Regions from separate parts of the Homo sapiens genome. Here region 1 is linked to region 2. Evidence: promoter capture Hi-C in human tissues and cell types (Jung and others, 2019). All regions are on one chromosome and are shown on one strand. The core of a region is centred on a gene start or on the middle of the fragment in contact, and the rest is flanking DNA. Distances in the headings are between cores, read along the strand shown.

Region 1 (2,966 bases), core at 397-2,896, 290 kb before region 2:
TTATTCAAGGGGAAATGATCCTGAAACAAAGAATGAACCTTATAAGACAGGCGTCCCATGTGAAGCCTGCCCAAGTAACTGTGAAGACAAACTTTGCAGTAAGTTTGTTTGCATTCTGTTTGTTTACAGTTAACCCATTGATCTGGGAACCATACATCCTTTAAATTAAGCATTAAAAAACATCGCACTTTTCTACAACTTTCATCTCATTCATGTACAAATTATTTCTGCTTACCCCTCCCCAATTGCCAGAGTGACTGAAAACCATTGATTTAACCTATGGCAAAGGAAATTACAAAGTCTAGGTCTGAGAACTCGAGTTCCCACCCAACAGATTAAAATATTTAATTAGGGTCAACCTAGATAAAATATTGAGGTAAGTGTAGATTTTTCTCTGCTCTCTAAAAAGTTCTTGGACCCCCTTACTGCAACCCATAATTTAGGCCCATTGCTTTCAGTTTACCGGTGTTCTCCAATTGCTTGCCCCTCCATGACTACCTACCCAGGTTGCCTGACCACTTATTGTGGCATGCAATTTTTACTGAGTGATCCTTATTCTTCTTTGGTTCCTGTGAACCATCTAAAAAGTTAGCTGATGCTCACATTATTCCTTAAAGCCTCTTTTTTTTTTTTAATTTCTTGAATAAATCTTACCTAAGGTAAAGCTTTAGCCAAATGGGTGCCATTTCTGTTTATTCCCTTAGATAGCCAAATTTCACTTTTTGAAGCCTACCTGCAAACATAATTTCTTAATTTCTAGGAATAATCTTGATTAAGATAAATTATACTAGTAATAAGTCTGTGGAGAAAAAAATAAACCTTAGAAAAATATCCTGTGACCTCCGACTTGAAAGGCCACTTATTTTTCTTCACCTAACCAGGTTACTTTATTGTCTTTTAAAGTAAGAAAGAAAATGGATTCTTCTTCCTCCTTTTACCTTTCTCTCGTTTCTCTTCTCTTGTACTCTTTTATTTACTTCTCTATCTGTCTCCCTCTCTCTTTCTCTGTATCCACTTCACTTTTTATACCCCGTTTCTGGAAAAAAATGTAGATGGAGAGAGATTCCTCCCCACCGGGAAAAAAAAAAAAAAATCAACCAGTTACCTATGCCTTAGCAGGAGAAGGGATGGCAATTGAGTAGATTTTTAGAATCTAGGTGAGAAAAGCAATGTCTGTGGTGGTATAACAATTTAATAGAAGTGAAAGAAGAGTAGGGAAGAGAAATGTTATTCAAGAAGATTGATTATATCACATAGATGATGTATATCATAAGCCCTTTCTTCACCTGTAAGTGTTTGAGAAAGTGAGAGCTATTAAAGGAATATATGAACTTAAGAATTGAACATATTGGGCACAAACAATGCTAAAAATGTAAGACCTAGACATGCAGATATAATTCATTTAATGTAATTCAAATAAAATTTATAAAAATAATTCTTACTTATAATATTAGGAAAGTATATAAATTAAGAACAACAGATAAAAGAAAACAACGGATTACAACACTTTACAGATTCAAAGAAAATATATGTTACTGCTAAAGAAAAAAAAATCCACTGATAGTCATATTTCACCAGAATACTACATAAGAGAATAAAGTAGGATAAAGATAGGTAATTGATTTTTTAAAAAAAATGAGTAATGACTTTGGCAAATTACTGATTGTAGGAAAAAGAAGCAGAGATACACTATCAAATATACAATTGCTCTGGCAGTAATATGACATCCATATTTCATCTCCTTGTTGCACCTTGATAAATCTACTGTAGTTATTCTCCAAGTTCCTGGAAGGTGAATCAGTTTAATAATTTAGGAAGAGGAAAATGTGTATAGCATAGAAGGATATTCACTAAAATAATAAACAGTAAGACATAAATGTAAATTTAAAATTTGTAGGCCGGGCGCGGTGGCTCACGCTTGTAATCCCAGCACTTTGGGAGGCCGAGGCGGGCGGATCACGAGGTCAGGAGATCGTAGACCACCCTGGCTAACATGGTGAAACCCCGTCTCTACTAAAAAATAAAAAAAAAATTAGCAGGGCGTGATGGCGGGCGCCTGTAGTCCCAGCTACTCGGGAGGCTGAGGCAGGAGAATGGCGTGAACCCGGGAGGCAGAGCTTGCAGTGAGCCGAGATTGCACCACTGCACTCCTGCCTGGGCCACAGAGCGAGACTCCGTCTCAAAAAAAAAAAAATAAAATAAAAATAAAAATAAAATTTATAAGATTGTTATAAATTTCATGCAATGATCAAACTTTATAATTGAAGGATAAGAGATATAATGGGAAAATTTAAATTTTTCCATTGTCAAGATTCAAATTCAGGACTGCATAAAGGTCAGAAAATCTTAAAAGAGAGAGGGAATTAAATTATTGTTATTTTTGCCTTTATATAGAGACAAATAGATACATTGGTTAGTTGTGATAGAGAATTCAGGTCAAAAAATATTTTGGTAAGCTTTTTGGTGCTATTGCCACAAATTTAAAATTTTGGGTATCTTCATACTGATTGGAGAATTTCGTGTGCATTTCTGCCTCTGTATGTACCAGGATGTAGGTGCGTGCACATCCATGGGATAGAGCAAGGTGAGAAAAATCACTAGAATGTTAGTTGAGATAACCTCTGGGTGGATGGAGAGATTATATATGCCATCCTATATGTGCTTTTTAATTCCATTTTCCATTGGCTATACATTACTTTTAATAATCCAAAGCAAATCTTTAACCATTAAATAATGCAGCATTAGATAATTAGACAAAAAATTATGAATATTTTATATTGCAATGGCATAGTTAATACTTTCAAAATGACAGTGTAATTAAAAATATGATTCCTCTCCAATCTGTTTATATTGGACTTAAAAAATTGTGATAAAAACTTGTTTTACACAAAGACAAAAATTTTACCTTTTTCTTTTCATACATGATCTTATCACCTGTTTTGCATTCAGATTTAGTTAGCTTATGC
Region 2 (3,156 bases), core at 487-2,986:
AGTTGTTTCAGTATTACCAGAGGAGATTTTTTTGAACTACACAAGGAGAATGGTATCTTCAATCTATTCTTGACTACAAGTCTCATTAATGAAGAACTATGGAAAAGAATAAGACATGCATTCATTTTATGGCAAACTACATATTGCTATCTACCTTTAGTTCAGAACATTTACATGCAGTATTTTTAATATTAAAATTAAAATGTATGATAAATGCATGTTTACAGGACTAAATTAGCTATTGTTTGCAGTAAAGCCTTTGTAAATGGAATTTCACGTTGAAATCTTAGTCTTCTGTCCCCAACTCCTTCTTTCCCTAGCTCCTCTCGTTTTCTTTCTAACACTGAAATGTGGGGGAGAAAAATGAAAAGTGCACATCAGAAGAGAGTCACTTGCTGCTTTGGTTTTACTTTCCCATTTCTTTTTACTTTCTGTTTTTGGCTTTTAAAACAAGCCTCTTCTCCACCCACTCCCACCCTCTTTGCAGAGAGCAGACTTCAAACTTCACTTCTGTTTCTAGGTCCTAAAGAGAAACAAGAGGGGGGCGGGGAACAGAAAAGAGATCAATTGAGAGTTATTCCAAAATGCAAATTAACAACAGGTTTTCTCATTTCAAAACTCCCACATTCTGCCAATCTGAAAATATCTTTTCTCCACCTCTTCTGAATGACTTAGGTCCCCAGACAGCGAAGGAATTCAAGCCACAAAGGAGGTATTATGCTGCTTACAGTTCTTAATCTGCCTCCCCGAAGCGCTGCACCAGCCTCTCAAAAGGTTCCTTCTGTAGGTTAATTGCAGGTTGGAGCTCCCAGAATAGCATTTTCTTTTAAGGATGATCGCTCATCCACCATCCCGGAACATTTCTCGAGCTACTCATTAGAGTTTAATTTCCTCGAGCCAAGTCCCTGGAGACGGTGAAACCCTCCTCCCCGCGGCGTGGACGCGGGATGCCCCTGTTCGTGCCTGGAGAGCCCGGGATTCAGCAGGGCCCCAGCGTTCCCCAGGCTGTCCCTCTCTACTGCTGCGAAAAGTGAGCGCGGTCACGAAGTGCTCCTCAGTCCTCGTGGTCATGCGACCCTTGGCCCAGGAGGTCTGCAACACTTCTTGTGTTACCTGATAATCCTCCACCCGCACAAGCACGTATTTGGGTGGGTCTGCTGCGTCCCGCGGCGGGGCTACACGCCTGCCAGAAATTCGCTTTTGTCGTTGAAAGACAGAAGGGTAGTTGGGCTCCTCGCCGTGGTCCTCTCCACCCGCATGAGGAAGGTCCTCTGCACCGGCCACCTCTTCCCGTGCAGGGTCCCCTCGAGTCCCTAACCACCTCTCTGGGTGCAGGAGAAAGAGCACTTTCTCTCTGACCCAGGACTCACGGTCCAATTCCTCCCCGGCCCGAGGTCCGAGGGCCCGATCTGCCGTTCTGTCCTCGTGGCCGCCGCCCTGGCTTCGGCTCGCCCCTGCCGTCGCGGGATTCCGGGCGCCCGGAGCTAGCGGAGCCCCGCGCCCTACCTCCCGCGGAAAAGGCCCGAGGTCCCCCAGGCTGCGGGAGGAGTCCATGGGATTCGCAGCTCCCTGAGGCCCCCGGGTCTCCATCCTGGCAAAAGGGTCATTCATTCGTTCCTTCTTTGACCGGTTCAAGCAGCAAGCGCCTGCTGAGCTCCGGAAAGCGCGGGACCACCAAGCCCTGGGTGTGGCCTCTGCTGCAGCTCCGGACTCCCAGCCGGTGAAAGCTGAAGACTAGATCAGCCCCAGGCTAACCGCGTGCGGAACCCGCCTCTTCACCCTCCGCCTCTCCCACCTGGCGGCTGTCTAGCCATTCAGAAGAAGCTTGACACAAGCCCCAGTCACTCCTCTTCTTCCTCCTACCCCTGTCCGGAGCCCTGCTCCCTTTGTCATTCGCTGATTCAGTCCCCTCTTACTTTTCACCTCTATCCTAGTTTCCCACCCACCTTTCGTTTTTCTCCGGAGCTGAGGCGCAAAGGACACCCTCGCACTGCGCCCCCACTGAAATGCCCCGAAGTATGTTTGCTTTCCAAGGACGCTCCTTGAGGTGAAGGAACAAAGAAGTTTGTGTGCATTTTAATTAGCTGATCTAATTCTGAAAAGGGTTTTTGTCCATTCCGAATCCACTCCCACCATGCTGCCAAAATAATGGAATGTAGATCAAATGGTCAGACTGAAAAGCTGAAGCCTTGGAGAAACTGGTTTTGGTTTCTTTGTCCTTCTTCCTTTAGAATGCCAGAATCTGTAGCTCTGGAGGACAATGGTCACACCTGTGTCCTCCTCCTCCTCTTCCTCCTCCTTCTTTTTTCCCGCTCTCTTTCTCTCTCCCTCTCCCCGCTCCCCCTTCCTCTTACCCCACCCCCCCACATTAGATATGGTCTCGCTCTGTAGCTCAGGATAGAGTGCAGTGGCGCAGCCTCGACTTTCCAGGCTCCCACCTCAGCCCGTCAAGTAGCCGGGACTACAGGCGCGCACCCCCATGCCCGGCTTTTATTTATTTATTTATTTATTTATTTATTTATTTATTTATTTATATTTTTCTAAGAGATGGTAGGGGTGGGGCTCTCCTATATTGCCCAGGCTGGTCTGGAACTCCTGGGCTTACGAGATACCCAGGATCCCCCACCCTACCCACACACCCACCTGGGCCTCCCAAAATTCTGGGATTACAGGCTTGAGCCACGGCCCTGGCCAGTCTTCATTTTGTGTGTAATCAACGCTTGTCTCAGGAAGGTGTAGTCTTTGATTTAAAACAAGCTATAAAACAGAAGCAAAACAAACATCCAAATGAATTTTTTCAGGACTTAAAATTGTTTGTGTTTGTGTCGTTTATAAAATTCCCTCTGCACCCACCCGTCCTCTTTAACCACAGGGGTTAAAAAAAGTTAAGTGTCTCTGGCGAGGCTTTTAGAATTTACCCATAGGCAGGCCCGCTGACCACTACTCTTTGCCTAAGGTTAACCGGGGAGGCTAGGTCATAGAAAAAGAGCTCAGTTTGTGGTTTCCAGTTCATCCTTAGCTGTTTGTTTTATTAAAAAACCCACTGATGGCTGGGTGTGGTGGTTCACACCTGTAGCCCCATCATTTTGGAAGTCTGAGGCCGGTGGATCACTTGATGCCAGGAGTTTGAGACCAGCCTGGTCAGCATGGTGAAAC

Evidence for each region. Contacts are between HindIII fragments. The study calls those that stand out against the background at their distance.
Region 1: a contact is called between a fragment that was not itself captured here and the fragment with the promoter of C6orf141 in region 2, in 1 of the 25 tissues and cell types used here (H1 embryonic stem cells).

What each region holds. Positions count from the first base shown.
Region 1 is chr6:49,835,569-49,838,534 of GRCh38, reverse strand. CRISP1 (cysteine rich secretory protein 1) reads left to right here. Exons shown (of 8, transcript NM_001131.3): 7 at 10-98. Among named protein-coding and RNA genes, the nearest start is that of CRISP1, 29 kb to the left of the region's middle. The HindIII fragment of the contact is 5,773 bases long and covers 1-2,966 here.
Region 2 is chr6:49,549,248-49,552,403 of GRCh38, reverse strand. C6orf141 (chromosome 6 open reading frame 141) reads right to left here and starts at 1,736. Exons shown (of 1, transcript NM_001145652.2): 1 at 309-1,736. The coding sequence starts at 1,611. The coding sequence ends at 877. RefSeq lists enhancers at 416-935, 952-1,021 and a silencer at 1,692-1,751. The HindIII fragment of the contact is 21,386 bases long and covers 1-3,156 here.